5 separate regions of the Homo sapiens genome follow, and regions 2, 3, 4 and 5 are each linked to region 1. The links are contacts of gene promoters, found by promoter capture Hi-C in human tissues and cell types (Jung and others, 2019). All regions are on one chromosome and are shown on one strand. The core of a region is centred on a gene start or on the middle of the fragment in contact, and the rest is flanking DNA. Distances in the headings are between cores, read along the strand shown. Region 1 holds the start of FOLR1 (folate receptor alpha). Region 2 holds the start of IL18BP (interleukin 18 binding protein). Region 3 holds the start of CLPB (ClpB family mitochondrial disaggregase). Region 4 overlaps CLPB (ClpB family mitochondrial disaggregase). Region 5 overlaps NUMA1 (nuclear mitotic apparatus protein 1).

Region 1 (2,825 bases), core at 322-2,821:
AGAGGGGCGGATTATGAGGTGAGGAGTTCGAGACCAGCCTGGCCAACATGGTGAAACCCCCATCTCTACTAAAAATACCAACAAACAAAACAAACAAACAAACAAAAAATTAGCTGGGTGTGGTGGCGTGTGCCTACTCAGGAGGCTGAGGCAGGAGAATCACTTGAACCTGGGAGGTGGAGGTTGCAGTGAGCTGAGATTGTGCCACTGCACTCCACCCTGGGCAACAAGAGCAAAACTCTATCTCAAGAAAAAAAAAAAGAAATGCGTATTACAAGTTTCTCTCCCTTGCCTCCCTCCCTTTCCTCCCTCCCTTTCCTCCCTCCCTTTCCTTCCTCCCCTTCCTTCCTTCCTTTCTTTCTTTTTTTCGTTCTTTCTTTCTTTTGACAAGGTCTCACTCTGTTGCCCAGGCTGGAGTGCAGTGGCACGATCTACAATCTCTGCCTCCTGGGCTCAACTGACCTGCCCACCTCAGCCTCCTGAGTAGCTGGGACTGCAGGCATGTGCCACCACACCTGACTAATTTTTTTTATTTTTTAGTAGAGATGGGGTTTTGCCATCTTGCCCAGGCTGGTCTCGAACTCCTGAGCTCAAGTGATCTGCCCATCTCGACATCCCACAGTGTTGGGATTACAGGCGTGAGCCGTAACACCTGGCCTACAAATTACTTTTCCTCTGCTTTTTCTTTAGTTATATCATCATGTTCAGGATATTAAAGGGGTGGTAGCAAAATAAATGTTATAGGGAGACCTCAGGTCCAATGTGGTCGAGAGACACAGCCCAAAGTTTTGCGAGATGCATGAACCAAGATGCTTCAGGAGGGCGTACGGCTCATTTCTGTAATCCCACACTTTGGGAGGCTGAGGTGGGAGGATCACTTGAGTCCAGGAATTTGAGACCAGCCTGGGCAACATATGGAGACTTTGTCTCAGGAAAAAAAAAAAAGAATGCTTTGCACACAGCCTCATAATGTGAGAGACTCTCCCTTCTTGAGCTGTTTAGGGCTGGCAGAAAAGAGGCCACTATGCACAGTGTGCAGTTTCTTCCCTCAGATCTTTGGAGGAGTCATTCCCAGTCTAAATCCCTAAATCAAGCAACCCCAGGATGGGTCACTCCAACTTCATTTCCCAGGCTCTCCTTTGGGCCTGCTTCCTTATTTCTGTAATGCGGAAACTCAACAACCAAGAAGGTGAACTGTTGGCATTGTACCGACATTTGGCACAGTGTCTGTGAAATAGTCACCCATATTAATGCAAACTGAAGGGCTCCTCCACTTCAGTTCACCAGTGAATGGGGTTTGGCATTTCCATGTCCTCGTTTCCTCTTCCTGAGCCAGTCCCTCACCACCCCAGATCACCCCCTGGCCCACCTGCTCATGCAACTTGTCCTCGGGGCCTGGCTTTTCCTTGTGGTGCTTGGCGTTCATGCAGACATTGAGAAGCTCAGTCCTGGCCCATGCAATCCTTGTCTGAGCCTCCCCTACTACAGCCACCCACACTAGAAGGAGCAGCAGCTGTGTTGTCATCCGCTGAGCCATGTCTGTCCCTGAAGAAAGAGCTGTGGTCAGTGGCACCAAGGAATGCGGAGGTGGGGCCTTAAGTTGTGTGCAGGGCTCCAGGAGGGTGGGGCCTGGACGGAAGCCTGGGGCAGATAGAGCCCTGCCCCCATCTCCCTCAGTTTTCCCAGATCCAATGAAAGGTAGGATTAGACACCACCCCTCCCTGGCTTGAGCCTCATTGCCTTCTCCAGGTGGTCACGAGGTTCAGGTGATATAATTCAAGGATGGATTTGGGCAAAATGCAGAAATAGCCAGGAGTTTGCCATAGGTCCACAATGCCTTATTCAAATGTTTCAGGGTTAAAATTTTTTAGGATTTCATCAAAGGTGATTCAAAGAAAATATAATTTTCATATACCCAATAATCAAGTGTATATTCTGGGGTGAAACAGTTACACTAGTGGGATAAATTAAAACTATACATAAACTCACATTAATTTTCAGGTCAGATTTTGACACCAAATTACTTCATTGTAAAAGTTTACAAAAATGGGCTGGGCGCGGTGGCTCATGCCTGTAATCCCAGCACTTTGGAAGGCTGAGGTGGGTGGATCACCTGAGGTCAGAAGTTTGAGACCAGCCTGGCCAACATAGTGAAACCCTGTCTCTACTAAAAATACAAAATGAGCTGGGTGCGGTGTCGTGTGCCTGTAGTCCCAGCTACGTGGGAGGCTGAGGCAGGAGAATCACTTGAATCCAGGAGGTGGAGGTTACAGTGAGCCAAGATTGTGCCATTGCACTCTAGCCTGGGTGACAGAGCGAGACTCCATCTCAAAAAAAAAAAAAAAGTTTATAAAAATGTTTTAGTTGGGGGGGCTGCAGTGTGGTTTTTGTTAGTTTGTTTTGCTTTTTAAACCTTGGTCCCAGCCCCTTTCTAGCCTCATCACTCAAGCTAGTTTAGTAGGCCCTTCCCGGAAACCATGGGATCTTGGTGGGGTGGGGTCACAGGACATGGGTGCTGGCAGGGGACAGCCAGCTGGACAGCCCTGGGGCCTTGGGGAGCTCCTGTGCCCCCTACCACAGAGCTGGCTTCTCCTTGGTCATCACAGAACTTCAATCCTTTGACCTCAGACACTGAATTTTGGGAGGCGACTGTTTCCTTCACTCCACTGGACACCAGGTGTCTGGGCCCTCCTAAAATGCTCAGAATTTATTTCCTATGACTTCTCTCCATCTGTCTCCTCTAACTCATCTTCCACATACCAGTCGCTAAAGTGGACATGCCTTTCCCGCTCACAAGCTTGCCTTGCCCCCGTGCTGCCCCTCCT
Region 2 (2,700 bases), core at 85-2,584, 190 kb after region 1:
GCGGGAAGAGGGACCCCTCAGCACCCACCCCTTAGCCCTTTATTGAACAGAGTACAGAGAAGCTTTAGACTGGAGCCAGAGCTACAATATCTGCCCAGGTTCTTAAAGCAACAGCACCAGGTGCGCTGGGTGGTTTGCCTTGGAGTGAAGGCTCCGGGTTAGCCCATTGCTCCATTCTGTTCATAGACCTCACCCTACCCCGCCTGCCCATGCGTAGCCCCAAGGCCTACCTGGTGTCCAGTTGTGTCTCATGGTCATGATGCATGCGTCAGGAGCTGGTGAGCCTGGCTCTTTATCTGTGACAACGTCCTCTTCTCTGGTGAAAGGTGGGGGAGGAGAATGGTAAACCACTCCCGCTTTTTCTCAGTAGCTGGCTTTTCCTCAGTAGCTGGCTTCTCCTCCCGTAGCATAGCCTGGAGCTCTTTCAGCACTTAGAAACAGAGCTGGGGGGGTCAAGTGACAATCCTTCCCCACCCCAGCTCTCATGACCACAAATGGTTGTAAGATGCTTACCTAGTCCAATCTTACCCCTTCATTAGGGAAGGCAAAATTGAGACCCAAAGAGAGAATATGGACTCACCCAGTCACACAGGGAGGCAGTGCTCTCTTCAGCACCAGAGCTGCTTCTGGGAAGGGCAGGATGCCGAGCAATCCTTCTGGGAAAGCACTGCCCCGACCCTCTATTTCACTTTCACTTTTTAACCAGGGAATCTTGAGCAGCTGTGACACCTCTGCTTTAGCCAAAGTTCAGTGGCCAGAAACCTTCAGCTCCTGGGACTCCTACTCTCCAGAGGATACCAGACTGGGATCTCTAATCTACCCCCATGCCACCCCCAGGGTCACCTAGGGTATGAACTAGATGAGTCTCTCACAGATCAATTCTGTCCCGCCCAAGTGTCAGGACTTTGGTGTCCGCCTCCCCTCTTCACAGCCAGGTCTTTGTTTCCATATGAACAGGCATCTGCTTCCTCCTTCACCTTCACACTGACATTCAAGGGGACAACTTTCCTAGGCACTGGGGAACCCCAAGTTGGACCACTTCAGGCTCAATGCCATACCAGTCCGTCCACATCCTGGCCTTTCCCAGGCTACCCACTCCCCCAGCCACCAGCCCCAAGGTCGGCTACATCTCCCAGCACCCACCATCACACCCTCTGTCTCTCATCCTAGCCCCTCTGGCCAGAGCCACAGGTCTAGGTTCACTAGTAGTCCCAGACTCCTACCTGGCTCCTAAGAGGTCCTGAAGAGCCTTCCTTTCCAGAAGCTTCCCTCTAGGAGCTCCAAGACTCAAGTTAGCTGTGTCTAGCTGCGTGTGAACCCACCACAGGAAATACACCGAGAGCACTTCCTCCTTGTCTGTAGAACTCTCACGGCCAACCCAGGAACTGGCACACAAGCTCGAGAGCCAACCCTAACAGGAGGGAAGGGCAGGCACTTCCCGGGGAAGAGGCGGACTGGCTCAACACTGGCTCTGGCAACAGAGTCTACATCAGAATATGAATCTTGTCACTGATGGGACAAATGGCGCTGGGGCTGCGGGAGGGCCAGGATTCAGGGTGAGGCGTGTGAGGAACCTAGGATGCTAAATCTAAGGAGGTTTTCTCTCAGGGTCATGCAGTTATCCATGGAGGCAGAAAGACCAGGGCTGGGTGATCCAATGCATGCATATATTAAGTGTGGACAGGAGCTGCATGTCTGAGGTTTGTGACTCCTGTGATTGGGAGGGTGCAACGGCTGGTGACAGAGCCAGGGAGGCCCACAGATGGAACTGGGTTTGGTGGATGCATCAGGAACACAGTCAGCTGTGATCTCAAACTTCTTGTAGAAAAACCAGATTCATATTCCTAATTTAGACATAGGATACTACAAGTCACATCCTTCTTCTCTAGGTGTCTAGTTCATGTTTTTCCTCCTCTCAATTCCTCCCCCTACCTCCTGCCCCAGGGGCTTCTAGCATGTAAGATGCAGGAGAAATTCCTCCCAAGAACACCAGCATCTCCAGGAGTTAGGTCAGGAGGCAAGGCTGCCTGGGGTTTCTGAGAGAGACAGTCCAGTGGGGGATGGTAGGGAAAGATGACAGGACTCTGTCTTAGTGGAACCGAGACCAGAGTCAGGCCAAGGGGGGAGGTCAAGGGACTCAGAACTGTTACACATGAAAAGAGCTTTGGACAGCCTGGCCTCGGCTTCTCACCTGAGCCTGACAGGGGGGTGGGGGGAAAAAGTAAAAGGAAGGGTGATCCCTAGGTCCTCTGACCAGCCCCATTCCCCTCTCTGAGGAGGGGAACAGCCCCACAGGTGGCATAAGCAGCAGGGTACCATGGGAAGCCACAGCTGGGGAAGAGAAGCCGAGCCTGAGTGTGGTCCTCAGGAAGGCAGGTGGTGGCGGGACACTGTCCTCAGGCAGTGAGAACATAGAGCAACCTCAGTCTGAAGGCAGGCCCAATGATGCCCCAGGCCCCCAGGCCACAGGACAGGAGCCTGGCATTCCACCACTCCTAGGGATGTCAGCAGGGGAACAGCTGGGAACAGCAGAAAGGCAGGCCCAACCACCCCCAGACCCTCAGGTCTCCGATGGGGGTTAACAAAGGCAAGACACCCCTGGGGACCCCAGGGAAAGAGGTGGGAAGAAGAAAGCAAGATAAATGTTCAGCTTTCCAACCCAGCTCATGGAGCTTTATTCAGACGGGAGTGACAACATCC
Region 3 (2,756 bases), core at 32-2,531, 240 kb before region 1:
AGTGCAGGTGTTAATGGAAACTATATGCTCAAAATCAGAAGACCTGAGCATTACTTTACTCCAGGTGATTTACTGGCAAATCTTTTCACCTTTGAGCCTCAATTCCCTTCACTGTAGACGGGAATAACAGTTCTTGCCCAGCTTCTCACACACAGCTGCCATGAGGATCAGATGAGATGACCCACTTGAAAGCCCTTTAAAAATAACACAATCAGGGCCAGGCGCAGTGGCTCACGCCAGTAATCCCAGTACTTAGGGAGGCTGAGGCAGGTGGGTCGCTTGAGGTCAGGAGTTGGAGACCAGCCTGGCCAACATGGTGAAACCCCGTCTCTACTACTAAAAATACAAAAATTAGCCAAGCGTGGTGGTGCGTGCCTGTAATCCCAGCTACTCGGTAGGCTGAGGTGGGAGAATCGCTTGGACCAGGGAGACGGAGGTTGCAGTGAGCCGAGATGGCGCCACTGCACTCCAGTTTGGGCGGCAGAGTGAGATTCTGTCTCAAAAAAAAAAAAAAAAAAAAGACCGGAAGTCAACTCTTCAAATAAAATGTATTCCTATCTCAGGTGCAGTAGTTACCCTAAACATCTTTTTGAAAGGCCGCCCAGGCTGAAAAAAGAGATAGGCTAAACTAAATAAGCATAAGTTTCATAATATGCCTCTGCTGAAGATTCTTGGGTAATTTACACCAGTCAAAAATTGTGGGCCGGGCGCGGTGGCTCACGCTTGTAACCCCAGCATTTTGGGAGGCCGAGGCGGGCGGATCGCCTGAGGTCAGGAGTTAGAGACCAGCCTGGCCAACGTGGTGAAACCCCGTTTCCACTAAAAATACAAAAATTAGCTGGGCATGGTGGCGGGCGCCTGTAATCCCAGCTACTCGGGAGACTGAGGTAGGAGAATTGCTTGAACACAGGAGACGAAGGTTGCAGTGAGCCGAGATCGCGCCACGGCACTCCGGCCTGTGAGACAGAGCGAGACTCCGTCTCAAAAAAAAAAAAAAAAAAAAAGTGTGTCGTGTGCTTCAACTAAACTAGGAAAGAAGTCTTGGGATTCTAATCTTTAACTCTAATCGCCACGCCCCTTCACCCGAACTCTATTTCCCAATATGCCCCGGGCTTCTATAATCCCGCAGTCATTGTGACGCAATCCCACAGCCTTCTGGGAAACGTAGTTTATTTATTCTCCAGCTGGGGAAAGGCTTAGGGCTGTGGACTACCTCTCCCGTGAGGTAGTGCGCAACTCCACCCTGTTCGCGGCGTCTTCGAACGCGCCGCGGCAGCCATGTTGGACGTGGTCAGCACAGGGGCCGGCACCACGGGGTTATCGAAGCAGCTGTCAAGATGCTGGGGTCCCTGGTGTTGAGGAGAAAAGCACTGGCGCCACGGCTACTCCTCCGGCTGCTCAGGTCCCCAACGCTCCGGGGCCATGGAGGTGCTTCCGGCCGGAATGTGACTACTGGGAGTCTCGGGGAGCCGCAGTGGCTGAGGGTAGCCACCGGGGGGCGCCCTGGAACATCGCCGGCCTTGTTCTCCGGACGTGGGGCAGCCACCGGGGGGCGCCAGGGAGGACGCTTCGATACCAAATGCCTCGCGGCTGCCACTTGGGGACGCCTTCCTGGTCCCGAAGAAACACTCCCAGGACAGGACAGCTGGAACGGGGTCCCCAGCAGGGCCGGACTGGGCATGTGCGCCCTGGCCGCAGCGCTGGTGGTTCATTGCTACAGCAAGAGTCCGTCCAACAAGGGTGATTATGAGATCTGGGTTTGAGGAAGGGAGAGGCGGGAAGATTGTCCTAACTTCGTATCTTAGGAGGGTGGGAGGTACTTATAGGTTTAGATCCTTAGAGCCTAAGTCTTGGAGGGACTCAGACATCATCTGGTTACAGGGGCAGGGTGTTGCCCTAGAGACCTCATCACCTCGGAGTTGTATAATCTCGTACCATAGATCCGCTTCCCCTCTCTGGGCATCATTTTATCCATCTGTACAATGGGGATATTGGACTAAACATCTAATATTATAGCATGGTCCCCTTATGTTTCTCATATTCTGCCTGGTCCAATTCCTCTTTCCTGAGATCTCCAGGAAACGGAAATTATGGGGTGTTTTAAGGGCAACCGCCAGATGGTTTAGAGAAGTTGCCAAACCGCTCCCCCCTACCCCCCGCCACCAAAGGTGCCAGAGTCAGGAACAACCTGACTCGGTTCTAATGCCAGCTTGACCTCAATTTATTTATTTATTTATTTATTTATTTATTTATTTATTTATTTATTTATTTCTGAGATGGAGTCTTGCTCTGTCGCCAAGCTGGAGTGCAGTGGCGCAATCTCGGCCCACTGCAACCTCCGCCTCCCGGGTTCAAGCTATTCTCCTGCCTTAGCCTCCCAAGTAGCTGGGACTACAGGTGCGGGCCACCACACCCAGCTAATTTTTGTATTTTTAGTTGTTGGTCAGGATGGTCTCGATCTCTTGACCTCCTGATCCACCCGCCTTGGCCTCCCAAAGTACTGGGATTACAGGCGTGAGCCACCGCGTCTGACCAATTTCTTTATTTATATAGTGAAGGATAGTTTCCCAACATTTTTACAGTACTGTTATTTTGACTCTTTTTGGAGTTCAGCGGCCTGAGTCTGTCAGTCTCAGGATTTTGCTGTGTCTGGTCTCACATGCTGTGAGGTGATCTTGCCATGTGGGATAGTTGGCAGGAGAAGGAAGGTGGATTCCTGGAGGCCCAAGGGCAACTGCTGGGGGACTGGCTGATCC
Region 4 (2,700 bases), core at 125-2,624, 210 kb before region 1:
TACAAAAAATTAGCTGGGCGTGGTGGCAGGCACCTGTAGGCCCAGCTACTTGGGAGGCTGAGGCAGGAGAATGGCGTGAACTCGGGAGGCGGAGCTTGCAGTGAGCCGAGATCGTGCCACTGCACTCCAGCCTGGGCGACAGAACGAGACTCCATCTCAAAAAAAAAAAAAAATAGTAGGTGGCAGAGCTAGAGCTAGAACCCAGGTCTCCTGACTCTCCTGTATGTTCTTTCATTGAAATGATAGCAGGTTTAGAGAAGTGCCTCTTCCAGGAGTTCTATGATAGCAGGTTTAGAGAAATGCCTCTTCCAGGAGTTCTTCCTCTTAAAATAGAAAACCCTGCAATATACAGAAGAGAAAATCCCGAAATGCAAACATGCGTATAACAAATAGCTCAAAATTGTTAGTCATCAGAGACATGCAAGATAAAACAATAATATAATAGCCCTTTACACCCACCCATTAGACTGGCAGTGATTAGAAAGCTGGCTATGGCCAAGTGTTGACAGGAAGAGGGATACACAGGCACACCTCTGTCCTGCTTGTGGAAGGGTCAGTGGGGCAGCTATTCAGAAGAGGACCTTGGCACTATTTAGTCAAATCAACTATGCACATACTGTAGGACCCAGTGATTTCACTCCAAGTACATGCCACAGGGAAATGCTCACATAGGTCCAAAAGGGGACATAGGAGAGGATGTTCTGTGAGCATTGTTTTTGGTGGCTGGGAGATAGAGGCTCCCTGGGCGGGTATGCCTGGGAGAGCAGAGAAAGAAAATGTGGACACACACCGTGGGGAGTTATGCAACAGTTAAAAACAATGGAGTTATTGCATACTTAGCAATATGAGTATACTTAAAACAGAATTTTCTGTGAAAAAAGTTGTAAGCAGAATTTTATACACATACACACACACACGTACCTACACACACCCATGTATATGTATTTATAAAAGAAGGAAGGAGGGAAGGAAAAGAAGAGATAGATCTTGCCTGGCTCAGGTCTTGGAAAGCAAGAACCTCTCTCTCTGTCTCCTCCCCAGTAGCCAGCAAGAGGCTGGGCACAGAGTGGGTGTGTGCACATGTTTGCTGAATGAATGAACAAAGTGCCTAGAGCCAGCTTTGCTGAATTATCCAGGTCATCCTGTGTGATCACATCTTAGAATCCCTGGGTATTAGCCAACCTGCCACTACCAGCTTGAGAGTGCAACACTTTGTTCCATCAAAATGATGGAAGTGAGATAGGATAGTAGGGTCTGTATTGAATACCTGCTATATGCCAAGGCTGGGATCTTGCAACTTAGAGATTATTATCCCAGAGGTCAGAAGACTGAAAATTAGTGTTGATTTGCTTAGAGTTATCTAGCTAGATCAGAATTCAAATCGGGGTCTGACTTACTCCAATGCCCTTTATTCATCCATTTCTTTTTATTAGACTGCACTCGGCCCTTCAGGGGCAGTAGGAGGAGGCATTTCAATCTTCTTTCTTCAGCCCTACCTCTAGAGCAACGCTGCTTCCACAATTTTCAGGGTCCAGGCAGGGGAACATGGGTCATTGTTCCCTTGGAGGCATGAGGGATTTTGGTCACTCTGAGTTTATCCTAGCTGCACCCTCCTTTCTCATTTTCCTGCCCAAGCTCCTCTCCCAAGGTCTGTATTACACCTCCAAACTGGTCTTCTTATCCCCATTTTGTACTCTTCGCCCTTCAAATTCAGCCTGCTTAGTGATTAGGTTAATTTTATAATTTCTTTTGTCCCAAAACCTTGAATGGACAACCTCACTGCCTTTGGTGGGAAGCTAAGGAATGGCAACTAGGTTTTCTCTCTGTTGCTAACTTCAGTGGATTGATGGTGGCTGATTGGAACCTATTTTGAAGAGGATTCTTTTTTTTTTTTTGAGACAGAGTCTCACTCTGTCGCCCGGGCTGGCGTGCAGTGGTGTGATCTCAGCTCACTGCAAGCTCCGCCTCCCAGGTTCACACCATTCTCCTGCCTCAGTCTCTTGAGTAGCTGGGACTACACGTGCCTGCCACCACGCCCGGCTAATTTTTTGTATTTTTAGTAGAGATGCGGTTTCACCGTGTTAGCCAGGATGGTCTCGATCTCCTGACCTCGTGATCCACCTGCCTTGGCCTCCTAAAGTGCTGGGATTACAGATGTGAGCCACCGTGCCCGGCCTTGAAGAGGATTCTGAGGCTCTTTCAAAGGCTCCACAGCAAGAACTGCTGGGAGAGATGTGTGATATCCCTCTTAGACGTGGGAGCACAGGACAGTAGCATGCATGCCAGGAATCTGTCAAACCTTTAGACTGAGCTTTTATCCTAGGGTCCATTACTGATTTCATGGGGGCTGCGAACACCTGATCATTATATGTAAAAAAAATGTTTTTGAGAGTGTATGCTCCTATGCACTTTTCTGGAAGAAATTTGATCGTAGTCACAAAAGAGCCCATATCTCAGAAAGGTTTATGCCCACTGCCTTAGCCTCCTAGTCTGACATTCGAGGTCTTGTGTTGGCTGTGCATGCCTCAGCAGCTGTCTGTTTCTCTGCTGTGAACTGTCACCCAGATGGAGCTGCCTAATGATCTCTGAATGTTCCTTTCCTGCTTCGCAGTCATACCCTGTTTCTTGCCTTGATTGACGTGCACTTCCTTCCACTTCTCTAAACTCTTCCCCTTCTTCAAGACACAATTCAAGTTTGTG
Region 5 (3,045 bases), core at 132-2,631, 160 kb after region 1:
GCCTCCCACCTTAGCCTCCTGAGTAGCTAGGACCACAGGCATGCACCACCATGCTGGGCTATTTTTCCTTTCTCTCTCTTTTTTTTTTTTTTTTTAATTTTTTGGGGAAAGGGTCTTGCTATGTTGCCTAGGCTGATCTCAAACTCCTGGCCTCAAGCGATTCTCCCTCCTCGTCCTCCCAAAGCACTGGGATTACAGGCATGAGCCACCACACCTAGCCTAAATGTTGTATTTATTTATTTATTTATTTTTTTGAGACAGGGTCTCAATCCGTTGGCCAGGCTAGAGTGCAGTGGTGTGATCATAGCTCGCTGTAGCCTTGACCTCCCAGGCTCAAGCGATCTTCCCACGTCAGCCTCCCGAGTAGCAGGGACTACGCGAGCATACAGGCGCAAGCCACCTCACCCAGCTAAAAATTTTTTTAAATTATTATTTTGTAGAGCCAGGGTCTCCTTATGTTGCCCAGGCTGGTCTTGAACTCCTGGCCTCAAGCAGTCCTTCCACCTCAGCCTCCCCAAGTGCTGGGATTACAGGCATGGGCCACTGCGCCTGGCCTAAAAGTTGTTTTTAAATGTGAAAGTGTTTAACTCAAATAAATACTATCATGTCTGTAGAGAAATCATTGATTTTTAAAAATCCTCTTAATTCTATAGTGCATGCAGCTAACTTAACTATTAAGAAATACAAATGTTATGTCTACTTCATTATTTTAATTTTATTAACCATAATAGTGCTTTATGTTTATTAGTTTTTCTTTTTTCTTTTTTTTTTTGAGATGTCTCTGTTGCCCAGGCCACAGTGCAGGGACACTATCATAGCTCATTGTAACTTCTCCAGCTCCTGGGCTCAAATGATCCACCTACCTCAGCCTCTTATGTAGGTAGGACTTACAGGCACATGTCACCATGTCCAGCTTGCTTGCTTGCTTATTTATTTATTTAGTAGAGACAAGGTATTGTTATGTTGCCCAGGGTGGTCCTAAACTCCCAGCCTCAAGCAGTCCCCCTACCTCAGCCTCCCAAAGTGCTGGGATTACAGGTGTGAGCCACTGCACCTGGCCTACTTTATATTTTTTAATGTGTTCTTGCATCCATAATCCCATTTGAGCTCACACTGGTCCTTTGAAGTAGATAAAGTAGGGATTCCATCCATTTGGCAAGGGAGGAAACTAGTGCAGAGAGAAATAAAGTTTGTAACAAAGGTTGCTGGCAAGTTTGTGGAGGAGCTGGGCCCAAAGTGTGTATGTACTGGCTCCCAGCCCAAATATAGAGAACACATTTGTAAGCAATAGAATCTAGTTGTCTGCACATAACCACTATGCTGAAGTTCTTTAAAATACCTTGTTTCTTAAAGCAGGCTCAGTCTCTCTCCCCTCTTAGTGTTGAATATGTGAATAATTAACTTAGCAAACCCTTTCTTCCTATAGTAATAAAAACGTAAACTTCAGCCCAGGCTACTTCTGAACTGTAGTGCCTGTGGAATTCATGAGGTTTTCCTGTAGAGGTTGACCATGTATACTTATTGAATAACCTGTGTACCTGATGTGTGTGACCCCTGGTGAATATTCTAGTGGTAAAAACTGATTTAAATGTATGCCTATCTGAAGCCAAAGAATGGGAACAGGCAACTAAATTAGAATTAAGAAGTTTTTCTTTGAAATTCCCAGCTCCTATTCTTTCATCCCCCACCGCCCCCTTTTTTTTTCTTTTCTTTTCTTTTTTTTTTTCCTTTGGAGACAGGGTCTTGCTCTGTCACTCAGGCTAGAGTACAGTGATGCAATCCCAGCTCACTGCAGCCTCGACCTCCCTGGGCTAAGGTGATCCTCCCACCTCAGCCTTCTAAGTAGCTGGGACTACAGGTATGTGCCACCACTCCTGGCTAATTTTTTGTATTTTTTGTAGGACAGGGTTTCACCATGTTGCCCAGGTTGGTCTTGAACTCCTGAGCTCAAGTGATCTTCCCGCCTCAGCCTCCCAAAGTGCTAGGATTACAGGTGTGAGCCACCGCGCTTGGCTCCCTCCACCCCCTTTTTAAAAAATCATCTTGTTCCCCTATTGTTTTTCCCTTCTCCCCTCAGCCAAAGCTTTATGTGTGGAAAGAATAAAAATGTATTAATAAGATTTTATATCTTTGTGGGAGTGTATAGCATATATGTAATATTTAAGTTTTGAATAGATATTTCAAAACTCAAGAGCCACAAAGGGCTATAATATAAAATGTATTAATAAGATTTTATATGTTTGTGGGAGTGTATAGCATATATGTAATATTTAAGTTTTGAATAGATATTTCAAAACTCAAGAGCCACAAAGGACTATAATATAAAAATCCAAGGGATACAGAAACTTATAATGTAAACGTTCAAGAAATACAAAGAGCTATAATACATTCAAGAGCTACAGAGAGTTATAATGTAAGAGCCTTTCTTTTCCCACCTCAGACTCCCTGCTGTCAAGTTCCTCTCTTTAGAAGCAGTGGTAGTACCAATTTATTGGTGTATCCTTCCAAAATACTCCCAGTGCTGGAACATCTTAGGAAAGTTTAAGCTTTTATTTAGTTGAAGCCAAAGGAAGGGCTCTCTGATGGTTGCATTTCAGGTGGCTGTAACTGGATGAGTGAGTGCAACGGCACTCCTTCCTGAAATTAAAAACCTGAGAATCATCAGTTCTTGTATTCCTATAGTCTACAACTGTAAGCACTCACATTAAGCCTCTGGGAAAAGGAGCAAACCATGTTGCTTCTAACGGTCTCACTAGGCTGTTCCCTTTGATTTACAGGTGAACAGTCTACACGTGGCTGACCCTGTGGAGGCTGTGCTGCAGCTCCAGGACTGCAGCATCTTCATCAAGATCATTGACAGAATGTGAGTACGCACCATACCCCTTTCTAGCCTCTAAGGCAAAGCTGATTGCTGGGGTGGGGGCTGTACTTGTTCTCTTTACTTGATGATGGCTATGACCAGAAATCAGGGGAAGGATTGGGACATCATAAGCCAGGGTGGGGCCTAAAGGCAAGAATACATTGACCTCATCTTCCAGTTGCTGT

Evidence for each region. Contacts are between HindIII fragments. The study calls those that stand out against the background at their distance.
Region 2: a contact is called between the fragment with the promoter of IL18BP here and the fragment with the promoter of FOLR1 in region 1, in 1 of the 25 tissues and cell types used here (mesendoderm cells).
Region 3: a contact is called between the fragment with the promoter of CLPB here and the fragment with the promoter of FOLR1 in region 1, in 5 of the 25 tissues and cell types used here (IMR-90 fibroblasts, aorta, lymphoblastoid cells and 2 more).
Region 4: a contact is called between a fragment that was not itself captured here and the fragment with the promoter of FOLR1 in region 1, in 1 of the 25 tissues and cell types used here (spleen).
Region 5: a fragment that was not itself captured here is called in contact with the fragment with the promoter of FOLR1 in region 1 in 1 of the 25 tissues and cell types used here (H1 embryonic stem cells).

Annotation. Positions count from the first base shown.
Region 1 is chr11:72,190,886-72,193,710 of GRCh38, reverse strand. FOLR1 (folate receptor alpha) reads right to left here and starts at 1,571. Exons shown (of 4, transcript NM_016729.3): 1 at 1,370-1,571. The coding sequence starts at 1,537. All of the region lies in intron 2 of FOLR1-AS1 (FOLR1 antisense RNA 1), which reads left to right. The HindIII fragment of the contact is 9,856 bases long and covers 1,187-2,825 here.
Region 2 is chr11:71,997,543-72,000,242 of GRCh38, reverse strand. It overlaps IL18BP (interleukin 18 binding protein), which reads right to left and starts at 1,334. Exons shown (of 6, transcript NM_001039660.2): 1 at 1,224-1,334; 2 at 231-316. The coding sequence starts at 258. It overlaps RNF121 (ring finger protein 121), which reads right to left. Exons shown (of 9, transcript NM_018320.5): 9 at 2,646-2,700. The HindIII fragment of the contact is 6,503 bases long and covers 664-2,700 here.
Region 3 is chr11:72,433,056-72,435,811 of GRCh38, reverse strand. It overlaps CLPB (ClpB family mitochondrial disaggregase), which reads left to right and starts at 1,281. Exons shown (of 16, transcript NM_001258392.3): 1 at 1,281-1,740. The coding sequence starts at 1,338. RefSeq lists enhancers at 330-1,136, 1,200-1,659. The HindIII fragment of the contact is 14,936 bases long and covers 1-2,756 here.
Region 4 is chr11:72,405,123-72,407,822 of GRCh38, reverse strand. The region is part of intron 2 of CLPB (ClpB family mitochondrial disaggregase); the gene reads left to right. Among named protein-coding and RNA genes, the nearest start is that of CLPB, 28 kb to the left of the region's middle. The HindIII fragment of the contact is 5,962 bases long and covers 1-2,700 here.
Region 5 is chr11:72,029,023-72,032,067 of GRCh38, reverse strand. It overlaps NUMA1 (nuclear mitotic apparatus protein 1), which reads left to right. Exons shown (of 27, transcript NM_006185.4): 4 at 2,778-2,863. Among named protein-coding and RNA genes, the nearest start is that of NUMA1-AS1, 16 kb to the right of the region's middle. The HindIII fragment of the contact is 4,468 bases long and covers 1-3,045 here.